Regions from separate parts of the Homo sapiens genome. Here region 2 is linked to region 1. The links are contacts of gene promoters, found by promoter capture Hi-C in human tissues and cell types (Jung and others, 2019). All regions are on one chromosome and are shown on one strand. Each heading gives the region's core, a stretch centred on a gene start or on the middle of the fragment in contact. The rest is flanking DNA. Distances are from core to core; before and after follow the strand shown. Region 1 holds the start of CHRM2 (cholinergic receptor muscarinic 2). Region 2 holds the start of MIR490 (microRNA 490).

Evidence for each region. The method cuts DNA at HindIII sites, captures the fragments that hold promoters and counts their contacts. A contact is called where the count stands out against the background at its distance.
Region 2: a contact is called between a fragment that was not itself captured here and the fragment with the promoter of CHRM2 in region 1, in 1 of the 25 tissues and cell types used here (pancreas).

What each region holds. Positions count from the first base shown.
Region 1 is chr7:136,866,169-136,872,239 of GRCh38, forward strand. CHRM2 (cholinergic receptor muscarinic 2) reads left to right here and starts at 2,484. Exons shown (of 4, transcript NM_001006630.2): 1 at 2,484-2,824; 2 at 3,093-3,250. RefSeq lists an enhancer at 3,163-3,925. The HindIII fragment of the contact is 6,446 bases long and covers 1-6,071 here.
Region 2 is chr7:136,899,129-136,905,199 of GRCh38, forward strand. All of the region lies in intron 2 of CHRM2 (cholinergic receptor muscarinic 2), which reads left to right. MIR490 (microRNA 490) reads left to right here and starts at 4,039; the gene lies at 4,039-4,166. It overlaps LOC349160 (a long non-coding RNA gene), which reads right to left. Exons shown (of 4, transcript NR_046103.1): 3 at 2,722-2,873; 4 at 1-689. The HindIII fragment of the contact is 3,977 bases long and covers 1,834-5,810 here.

The sequences.
Region 1 (6,071 bases), core at 1,234-3,733:
TCCCTAAAATCACAGTGAATGGCAGAGTTACAAGTCTATATAAAGATGTGTTCTAAGTGATGACCTAGAAAAAGAAAATGGACATAATTGATGACCGTTGGCTAAAAATGATGCTTCCCTGTGCAACTCCTCTCCAAAAGGCCTTAAGTATACTGACTTCTATTAAACATAGCACTTCAGTCACACATAGACTCTGTTTTATTGAGGTTTAAGAAAAATATTCGTTTGCCTTCATTGGTTATTTATTTGGTTGCTCATTTTGGAATGTGCAGCTTTATTAGTAAAAGGGGGCTTAGTGTTCTTAATGATGTAAAGGAACAAAAAAGTAACAAATCACTGGGTTTTCCTGTCTATTGCTGGCCAGGGATCTATTTCTCCTCACTTTTTTGCTTTGATGGGTGTGTGTCTGTGTGTGTGTTCCAAAAGACTCAAGCAGCTTCATGGGTTTATGGAGGCTCAGTAGACAGAAATAATGGAGTAAAAAAGGAAAATGTGAATTCATTCTGAAAAGAGTGTCTAAGAGAGGAGAGATGACAAAATCAGATATTTAATGTAGTGGAACAAATGCTGGGAGAGGCTGAGAACAAGACTTAGCAGGGCTGTTTTGATTTTCTCACAGGTATCTTATAATCACCCAGTGATGGTGGGATGTAAGTATGGAGGTTGAAGGCAGAGACACAGTATTGTAATGCTGCATTTTAGGATGACTTCAATCAAGCAAAATCAACTTTGTGTCAAGTCCTGCTTGGTGATAGCTATGAGTTAACAAAAAGGGCAGAAACTTTCAGCTACAGCATTTCCATTTATCAATAAATTTACATTGCTATAAAATTAATCATTGGATTGTCAACTGTTACATAGATGTTTCAAATGAAGTGTCTTTTCTTGTCAATAGGAATAGAAGCTTATAAAAACACAGGGACAGTGGTTTTTGCTCTTGTGGATGGCCTTTAATACCTAGCAAAACCCTGGACGTCAAGAACTGAACTGAATTTAATTGACTATATTATATTATATCAATGTATCTTTAACTTGCTCTTTGTCTATCCCTGTGACCCAAAAAGTGATGTGTCCAATTCTGGGCTATTCAATTTAAGGTTTCCACTTCTTGCTCTTTATTTGATTGAAGTTGGATGAGAGAAAATAAAGCCTATGTAATATATAATATATTGATGTTATATTCACATACACATATGCTTTTACAAAAGCAAGTTTTGGCCTAAGCTACACTTTAGAATCCTATCATTGTACTTTTATCAAATGAGGTTAGTATCTAAAAATAATAGATACAATTATTGGCAGAAATTTCTCATTAAAATAAAGAAATAAACATCAAAGGCAGGTCTGAACACAGAAAGTTTGCATCCTAAATCTTTTTTCATGGAGATCACAAATTCCCTGAAGCATCAAACATATATATATTCTGGAGATATATATATATATATATATTTTTTTTTTTGAGAGAGATATATATATATATATTTTTGAGATATATATATATATTTTCTGGATATATATATATTTTCTGGATATATATATATTCTGGACATATATATATTCTGGATATATATATCCTGGACATATATATATATATTCTGGATATATATATCCTGGACATATATATATATATATATTCTGGATATATATATATATATTCTGGATATATATATCCTGGACATATATATATATATATATATATATATATATATATTCTGGATATATATATCCTGGACATATATATATATATATATTCTGGATATATATATATTCTGGATATATATATATATTCTGGATATATATATATATATTCTGGATATATATATATATATTCTGGATATATATATCTATATATTCTGGATATATATATCCTGGACATATATATATATATTCTAGATATATATATTCTGGATATACACATATTCTGAATATAGATATAGATACAGATATAGATATAGATATATTCTGTAGTCTACTGCCCATTAGCTGAAGAAAACATGGTCACTGGCTCATATTTAAAGTAAGAGAAAAAAATTACTTCTCCTTCGGATACATTTGTCAAAGCTCCAAAGAAATAAACAATCTGTGAATAGTTCAGCACAATTATATATTTACAAAGCATAGTGGATTTAGTCTAACATTTTCCCACCTGGAAAAACTGGGCTTAAGTATCTCCGACAAACAAAAAGCAATACTGCGTTCTTCCCAATATGCCATGTCACCTTTGTAGCACTCACACACTTGCAGGGAAGGGACTCGGGGTTGGGGGTGGTTCTGATGTAGAAATTGCAGATGGAGAGCTGGGCTCTGGGGATGGAAATGGAGAGAAGCGAAAAAGAGCCTGGAGAAACGGCTGTCATATTTGCTCAGAAGAACCGCCAAATCAGAGAGCACAGAAGATTTCATTGGAGGAGCGCCTTCAACAGCAACTAATCCTGTCATACTGAAAGAAAATTGTAAATGTTCTCTCCAGAAATTGTCCGCCCATTGCAGCTAATCGAACACACACGCACGAATACAGACACGCTCTCCTGCTGTACTAAAGGCGCCAGGGCGCAAAGACCTAGGGAGCGCGCGCGGGCACACACACACACACACACACACACACAGACACACACACACTCACACACTCCAGGCTGCGGGTTGGCCAGAGCCTGGAAATCGCAGATTTCACCAGGAAATCGCCGAGGTACCCGAATAGGTGTTGCCTCCCAAAACTAATTCCTACTTCCCCAAGCACTTTGGTGAAGAAATGAATCCAGCCCAGCTCGCCGAGGCATCCAGGTCTCCATTCTATTTTGGTCTCCAGGCTCTTCGTGAAAGCCAGGTTTGAAAGTCTTGTTTGCTTCTCCTTTAGTGGTTTGGCGTGGAGGGCGGGGGCAGCGTCAATTTAACTCCAGTCTAAACCACGAACAGGTCACAGACTAGCCAAGTGGCTGAGACGAGTGTGGGGTGCGTGACTCTGCCTGCGCGCGCGCCAGCCCCGCAGCTCTCGCCAGAGCCTTGGGGTCGGTTCTCTCCCGCCTCTCCCGCCTCTCCCGCCCCACCCCTACAGTGTCTCGGCATCAACTAATCTTTTCCTTTTCTTTTGCAAGATCAAGGGAGAAAGAGAACCGGCAGCTGGCCTCGGACTCTAAGCGGTGCGCAGCTCCAGCCCGAGCGGATCGGCCCTGAACCCACAAAGGACTCCTCGCTCCTTCAAGCCTCCACCACCTCGCAGCCGGGGAGGCAACTGGAGCGAAACCAGCGACAGGTAAGGGCCCCGCGCTGTGCAGCTCTCCGCTTACCCACTCCAAGGGCCCTGGCACCAGGGGGTCTCTCCCTTCATATCCCCCCAAGCCGGAGGCTCAGGGGTCGGGGCTTGGGGGAATTGGAGGGAGGTCCTCCCCACGTGCAGATTCTCAAACGGAAACTTTGGATCCTGGGGCTTGGAGGGTTGCGAGCAGTGATGGCGGGTCTGAAAGGAAGGGGCAAACGAGGCACAGCGCGAGGCGAGGTACCCCTACGATTCCGACGGTCACTGAGTCCAGCCGAATGTGGCGAAAGCAGCCTGGGAGCTGCGCTGTCCCGGCGTCGCTCCCTATTCCAGCCCCCCATTCCCTCTACTGTTGCTGACCCCCCTCCCGCCACCCACTCCAGATGCAGCCATGGACAAGACAAGGAGAGCTTCGTCCCTCCCGCCCCTCGGGTTCCTTCCTGCTGGGGTCTGACCGCGTCTTCTGTGCGTGTGGGATGGAGGCCCGGCTCGCTCGGGCTCCGAGCTGTCCCCCGGCTCCGCTTTCGGAGCAGCCCTTGGGCGCTGGAGAGGTTTCCCATTGCGGTCTCCAGGTCATGGCCAAGGAGGAGAAGCAATTAGAATGGGGGAAAGGGTCCCAAGACAAAGGAGAGGGAAGCATTCTGCAATCCCATCCTATTTGAGCCCCGCGCAGGAGCTGGACTGTCCGCCGTGGCTGGGGGACAAGGTCTCAGCCCGAAGCTCATGAGGTACCAGACAGTGCCTGGGCTTCGCCACCTAACTCACAATGGGTCCTGAACCGCCCGGGCAGTCCCCGGGGTCGTAGACTGGGGACCGCTGCACCCCTCCCCGCCCGCAATGTCCCTTGGAGTCCGCACCTGAGGTCCCAGGCAATCGCCGCTAACTTGTAGCTCTCGGACACGGACAGGTGCGGTCCATGCCTGGTGCCGGTAGACGCGCAGAAATTCCACCTGTGCGCGCTGCCCGGCGCCCCTGGGGCCCCTCACGGGGTAAGTAGAGACTCATCTGGGAGAGGTGAAAATTCCCCAGAATTATTGACACACACGGCGGCACACCCTTTGCCTCCGTCCGCCTCCAGCATCCGCATCCCTTTCTCTATCTTCCTGCCCATTGCCGTCCTCGAGGCTGCCCTGAGATACAGAATTGTCCCAGGCTGAGTCCACCGACCCGCCAGTCCCTGGCGATGATGCCAAGGCTCTTGCATGTACGGAAATACCAGCAGGGAGGTTCGCCAGGGGCAGAGAGGCTGGAGGAGAACAGAGAATTGGAGGTAAACGCGTAAAGCCAGCAGAACTGTCGGTGGACATTTCACCCAGGCCGCCCTCCCGCGTCTTTAAGTCAGTTCACCGCCACAGCACGTCTGTGACTGCGGCCACCCAGGGCTCCAAGTCTGCCAGCCCAGGCGCCGCGAGCCAAGAAGAGCGCGGCGCCTCCCACTCCTCAAGCTCCGGAATCCCCCACATCGACTTTCTATTTCCCTGTCTTCTTTTCTTTTTTGTTTGTTTTGCTTTTCCTGCTCTTTTCTTAGCGCTGGGTGGCAGTGGGTATGCGGCAGCCGTGTGATTTGCCCATCCCCTAGTACACGCAGCCAGCGACACAAGCACACAGCGACCAGTCCCCACGCTGTGCCACACACCCTCCAGCGGTCCGGCGCGCAGCCCCTGCTCCACAGCCCGGGACGCCTGCAGCCACCGCCAGGGTCATGGCCATGGCCCACGCAGGGCTCTGCGGGTGGAGAGGGGAAGTCAGCCTAGACTCCAGAGAGAAACCCTGGGGCAACCCGAAAGGCCTGAGGAAAACTGGAATTGGGGTTAGGCATGAGGGGAGGGAGTCTCTGGGGAAAACGGGCCGGGCTGTGCGGAGCCCTGAGGGCTCCTGCGGCTGCAGCGCTGCAGGCCGCCCGCGTCTCGCCCCGCCCCGCCGCTGGGCGTCCCCGCCAGGAGCCCACCCGCGGGCGGCAGCTTTTCTCCATGCTGCCCAGGGAAGTTCGATGCCTGGTGCTGGGATGCGCCAGCGCTTCTGTTCGCTTCTGGCAATCCTGGCGTCTCCCAATGAGAGGGCTCTCAAAATGAAGCTTTTAATAAACTCCAGAGTAAGGAACTCGGGATTGTGCGGCAAAGGCCGCGCATTGCACTTTGTGAGCAATCGGTAAATATGCGCAACCATATGATAGGAAATATATGCATTTTCATTGATAAGAAAAAAAGAGATGATGGTATTTTTAAACAGAAGCCACAAACAGGCATACCTGTGCCATTGTTGGGGAGCTAATAATAAAGGCACTGATGATCACAGGAGTAAGAACAATTGACTTGGCCAAGAGACAATTTTAAGCTGGGAACTGTATTCGGCTGCAGTTCAGAAAGTGGACTTTTGAGACTTGTCAAACGAATGGAAGAATTTTGTGCCAACAATGTCCCAGCTTTGCAGGCTTGGCAGCTGAGGACTCAGAAGTAACAAATTAATGCCAGGTGAATTATTATTGTTACTACTATTATCAAAATGTGTTCCAGTTGCAGCAATACAATGGATAAGCAACTTCCTATTGACTCTATTTGCTTTCCTGGGCTAGACAATAATGCCAATTAAAACTTAAAAAATTTAACCTGACCCTAAAAAGAGGTGAGAACTCCAGCCAAATCTGTTTACCATTTTAAAATAAAGCTCTGTGAATGAGGTGGGGTGGGAATGGGGGAAAGTTTTGGGACTCCAAATTCCCAGGGCTAGACTGTCTGAAAGATGCTTCATTTTCCTATAAAATAAAGAGGCATGTTTGTTTGTAGAAGGGTGCTTGAGGGTGCCTGGAGGCAAATTGGAG
Region 2 (6,071 bases), core at 2,572-5,071, 34 kb after region 1:
CATTACAATCATGTAATTTTAATACTAAGCTAGTGGGAAAGTCCCTTGCTCTAAAATAAAATGAACACTTTTATTTTGGAAGTGTTCTTGTAGATATGTTGCAGTAATTTATTATTCAAAAAGGGCTCTTTCTGTCTGGAAATTTCATCATTTGGCAAACTAAAAATGATCCCACATTGGGTACCCTGAGAGATCTTCCTGTTATAGCACTGACCACAAGTGAATGCTCATCCAAGTAAAAATGTGAATAATTGGTTTTTCTCCTAAGAAAAATTTGAGTTTTCATACAGGAGCTATCAGATAATTCTTACTAGTTTGCATGATTTCCATCTATTAGCCAAATGAGATAAACAATATGAAAAATTTTCTAAGGTATGTCACAACTTTGCACATCTGTTGGCTAAGAAGTATGATGTTTAAGTGTAATTCATGTCACATAGAGTCAGAAAATATGTAATTCAATCAAAATTAAGGAAGTAAGGAGGCATTAATAGAAGATACAGGAGGACTATTCCACTACTCTCTTTAGAAACAATGTAGCAGAAATATACAGAGAATATTAAATCCTGCATACTCCTTCCTAATGTGTTCATGTGTATTATAAAATATAGGATGTAGTAATCCATGTCTTGCTTTACAGTGTAGAACTCAATGACTTGTTTTTGAGAAAATCAGGATCTTCTTCAGAGCTAATATTTGGGAGGAAAGATATAAACAGGAGTTATGGGCTAGGTGATAAACCATAGATATGAATACACTTCATAGTTTAAAAAGCTTGTTTCATGCAAATACCTCTAGCAAATCCCTGGGGAAAAATCAATATTGAAAATTATCTAGAATAATCATCTTCTCTAAACAAGAGTTCTTAGTTTTTCTCATTGCTATTATTTTTCTTTTTAATTTACTGGGAGGCATTGAAGACTGTATAAATAAGTAAAAACAAACTCACATACCTAGTGAGCCATGGTTTTGTTTGCATGAATTAAAAGGAGAAATGAAATTCCGTCAGAACAAAAGACAGGCTTATTTCTGATACTATCATCACCACCAACAGCAGGTGATACATTCCCCAACCCTTGGCTCTGAGTCAGAGAGCAGCCCAATGTGGACACTGAAGATACTAGTGAAAGGAAACAAAGACCCTTAAACAGTTCCTAGGACTAACCTAAATGTTTTGCAGCCAAGTTAACTATTTTTTTTAATATTATACTACATTACTAGACTTAGCCATAGGGAGAAGTAAAACCAGACTGATTTTGCCCTGTTAGTAATTTTGAGCAGGAGGCTGCGTTGAAAACTAACAGAATGGAGCCTTAGCTTGGAGCAGCAGCATCTGATGGATTTGATCACAGGCTTACTTCAGTTTGGTTCTCCCAGAAACAAGGCTCACTTCTACTTGTGAAGTGCGAGGAGCCATCTAGGAAGGAGGGGATGTGAAAAGGGAAGAAGAGGCTGCCAGTAAAAAGGTTTCTATTAAGCTGGGCATCTCAGAGGAGACTGGAGCTTACACACATGAGGCATTCTAAGAAATGGCACAGAATTGCTCGTCTCATAATTATCTTGCCAACTGCTAAACAATCTTTTTTTTAAAAAAAGAATTGTTATTTAAAGCCTGCTCCTAGAGGCTGTAAACACCCGAGGCATTTTTGGTTTTCCGTATGTGCAGGGTGAGCAGAGTGGCCTTCCTAGGTTTCTGAAAAAGCCCCCAGACACAGAGAAGCAGACAGTGGCATATAGACGTCAGCAGGGGAACACTGAAAGATCTGAATGATATGGGTAGGGTACCAAGAATGTGAGCTACACACCTCTATTCATAACAGAATTTTGAGCTCCAATCAAGGCATGGATATATTCTTATTTATAAATTACATAGAAATAATTTTTCCATGATTATGTATATCATAGTACATACACAAAAAACCTCTTTTAGAGAATGATATAACAGTAATTGAGAACGGAGTTTCTAATACTTTCTTCCTGCAAGCCAGTAGATTGTCCTGTACAGCCCGGGGAGTGTGGGCACCCCCAAAGTGGAAACGAGTGCCCTGGGAAAGGAAAAATTCCATTTCCAAGATCCAGGCATGTGAGAATTACGTGAAATTAAATATGTGGACTTGCGGTTTTTGGTTCTTGGAAAAATAGAAAGGTATAGTGGGTTGCATGCAGTTCTAGCTGCATTCCAGCTAGAAACAGATTGAGACAGTTCAGATTCACAGGCACTTGCAGGGCAAGTTTTCAATGTCACTGTGGCTTTACCACGTAGGCAAATTTGAAAATAGACACACTAAATATTGACTACAGGAAAAGAAAAATGTGTATTTATTCATACAAAACACATTTATTTAGCATCTATAATGTGCTGTGCCCTGACCTATAGTGACCCAAACAGATTAGCAGATCTCACCCGATCTTGTAGTGCAGTGATTTGAATAGCAATGATCTTTGGACCCTAAGCAACCCAGTTTGGCCATTCCCTGATGTCATTTTTTTCCCCCATTTCCATTGTTATTTTTTGAGAACATACAGACGCTTTTTGATCCATTTGTTGTAAGAACCTAGCCTCTTGATCAGTTGCATTTACAAAATAACAACATTGATAATTTCATAAATGTGTAAGATTTACAGCTTACAAAGAACTTGCACACACATCTCATGCATAACTCACAAAACCTCTTAATTCTTTCCCAATAATACAGGGGAATCATGGACTCAGGGGCTGACCTCCAAAGACGCTGTTGGTGGTAAATTGTTAGAGCCCCGAGATGTGACTTAAATTTAGGTTTTCTGACAGAGGTGTGCTGCTCGTCTCTATGCTAATCCATTACACAGCCAGACAGGAAGAACTGTCAGTAGATTCTGATCAATTTCTCTTTCTATAAAAAAAAATGATAAGCTTAGTTAAATTGTATTAGATAAGTGAAGGGTTGTTTATAACAGTCCAGCCTCCCCTTAGCTTCTTCTATGGCTTTCATTAGGCTCCATCAAAGCCTACTCTCAAAACAAAATATAAAAATAATTGTTAACTACTAACATTGATTCTGTGATCTTCCTTTTAAACTCATCTATCTATCTATCGATCTATCTATCCATCCATCCATCCATCCATCCATCCATCCATCCATCCATCTATCCACCTAGCTATCCTTCTATGTTTGCAGTCAGTTGCTAGTTATTAAGATAATCAGAATTGCTTTCAGAATTAATAATTGGTATAAATTTCAGAAGAGTTTGAATTTAGGTGGCAAATTCATAATAAGTGAGAAGGTAAGCTATAGCATCCTCTGATAATGTGTGCAGTTTACTTTTTATCTGTCTCTTTCTAATTGAAAACTAACAAATATAGCCCCAATTAAATGCACGTAAAAATTAGAAGCTGGTGGGATAGGGTATTAAACACAATCCTAGATGACTCTTATGAACTCATACCATAAGCAGCCACTTTCTTTCTCGAGCAAACTATAGTGAGAATGAAGCATCTTAGATTGAGAAGGGATTAGGACGACCCTGAATGGAATGGGCAAATCATAAACAGCTAGGCCCTTAGAATTTGGTTGCAGTCCCAAACCCAGGTCAGTTTTTAAACATGACTATCAGCTAGATATCCTTTCTCCACCATACAATAATAGATAACAACCTTAATAAGACGTGTAGACATTAAACTTTGAAATTCCACAGTAAGATGTAAATATTTGCTCAATCAAGTACAATTTAATATGTTTGTTATACAGCAACTGCAGAGCACAGAATTTTGTACTCTTTGGATGTTTATGATAAGGTACACATTATTTGCAAGTTTTTGCTTGTTTCCTTGTTCAGTTTTTCATTATCAAACAAACAAAGCTTCTCAGCCTGGGATTAACCTGGAGTCTGGAAAGTATACATTATGGCCAGCAACTTTAAACAATAGGCCAGAGATGGGAAATGAATGAATGAAATTCTGACACAGAAGACAAACAACAGAAACTCATTTGGGCTAGTGTAGGTGTAGGTTTTTTATTCTTCAACCAACGGTGGTGAAGAGGATCTCCCTTCACTTTATGGAGGCCTTGCTGGTTTGGAAAGTTCATTGTTCGACACCATGGATCTCCAGGTGGGTCAAGTTTAGAGATGCACCAACCTGGAGGACTCCATGCTGTTGAGCTGTTCACAAGCAGCGGACACTTCCAACTCCATCTTCCCAAGAACTAAATGGGTGTCTTCTATAGTGTATGTGCAAATCTCCTTCAAAAGGAAGTCTTACTCTTCCTGCTTTCAAAAATGGGAACAAAATTCACACCTCAGCATCCAAGTATTTGTTATTTTTGTGGATATTGTTAGAGCTGGTGTCACAATGTAAACTACTAGGATGAAAATAAGTATTAAAAGATTTCTCTTTTAAAAAGCTGATTAGAAATGATAGAAGTATAAGTAAAATATTTGTTTGTGAATTTTAATTATGTACAGAATGAATTTTAGTAACAGGCAAATCTAGCATTTAAGACTGCAATTTTCTAAAATTTAAATTTATTGGATTTCTAAAGTTGGTGTATCAGCATATTATTCTTAAATAATACGCCTTCTGTTTTACAATATTTCTCATTTTTATTTATATCTTTAATTGGCTAAATGTTTTATAATGTTAATTAATAATGCTGAAACAGTCATTCTTGTGATGTTTTAATAACTCTACTAGTGTTTTAACAGTAATATGGCCTTGGGGTTTGGTTTAAAGTAGGTGTTGTACATGATATTAAGGAGATGACCTTTATCAAATGTTTTATTTTTCTTGTATTGGAATTATCATATATATATATTTTCTTATTCAGACTATGTGAAGTGACATGTTATTTGTTTTCCTGATACTAATACATTTCTAAATCCAATGGCTTTAATTGTCATGATATGTTACTCTTTTAATGTACTATTGAATTCCATTTGCTACCATTTTACTAAAGCATTTTGCATCTACATTTGCAAGTGAAACTGAGTTAAAAGTTTGTTTTTTTAATTTTTGAGTTATCTTTGGCTGAAATTTATTTCATAATCACTTGATTATATAAAACCAATTGGTAGCTTCCCCTTCATCCTTATACTGTTGAAAATTTTACATAGAACGATGATCAATTCTCTAAATGTTTGAATGGCCCTTCCTGGAAAACTTCTGGTAAAAAGCTCAAATCATTTTTTACAACAGTTTTAAAAATTATTATAACATTTTTCTAAGTCACTTGCCTATTCACATTTTCTATATCTCTACTCATTAATTTTGTTAAATTATAGATGGCTACCATTATCTATTTAAGAAAAATGCTTGTAGTATTTATCAAATAATTGTGCATATGATTCTGTTAAAATAATTATTCTCCAAATTTATCTTTCCTTTCTTTTTCCCAATATTAAATGTTTTTCTCATGCTTTTTTGCCAGAGTTTTGTGGCTTTTGATTTTTATAATTTATTACTTATCTTACTTTTGTAGTTACTTCTTTTTAATTCTGTAGAGGTTTTTGTTTCCCTTTTTAAAATAATTTCTTGAGTTTAAAGCTTAGTTTCTTCTGCATTATAAAATTTTGATACTTCTTCTTTAATATTGGGAACATTTATAGCTATGAATTTGTTTCTGACAACTGCTTTAGTCTCATCTAAATGTTTAAAATATAGCCTGGTTAACATTAAGGGAGCACAGGCTTGCTGCTTTTCAGTCTTTTGGCTAAGACCAGGTGAAAAAGAGCACGGGTTTAGAATCAAGGAGCTTAGGTTTGAATTCTGACAGTTTCACACATGTTGTGAGAGGGACTTTAACTCACTACACTTCTGTATTTGTAATTTAGAGTGAGTATATTTACATTATAGTGCTTTGTAAGATTAAATGAGATATGTTTATAAGTGTACAGTACTGTGATGATAGCAAAATCAAATGTTCAACACAAATATTAATATTGGTTGAAAATTATAGTTTGGGTTGTTCTTTTTTGTATAATAATTTTAATTTTTAAAATCTGAAGTGCTAGATGTTTGTTGCTTTTGTTGTTATTTCAAATTGTCTTACAAATTTCTAATTTTATTGCATTTTGCCCCAATAATATGGTCTTAG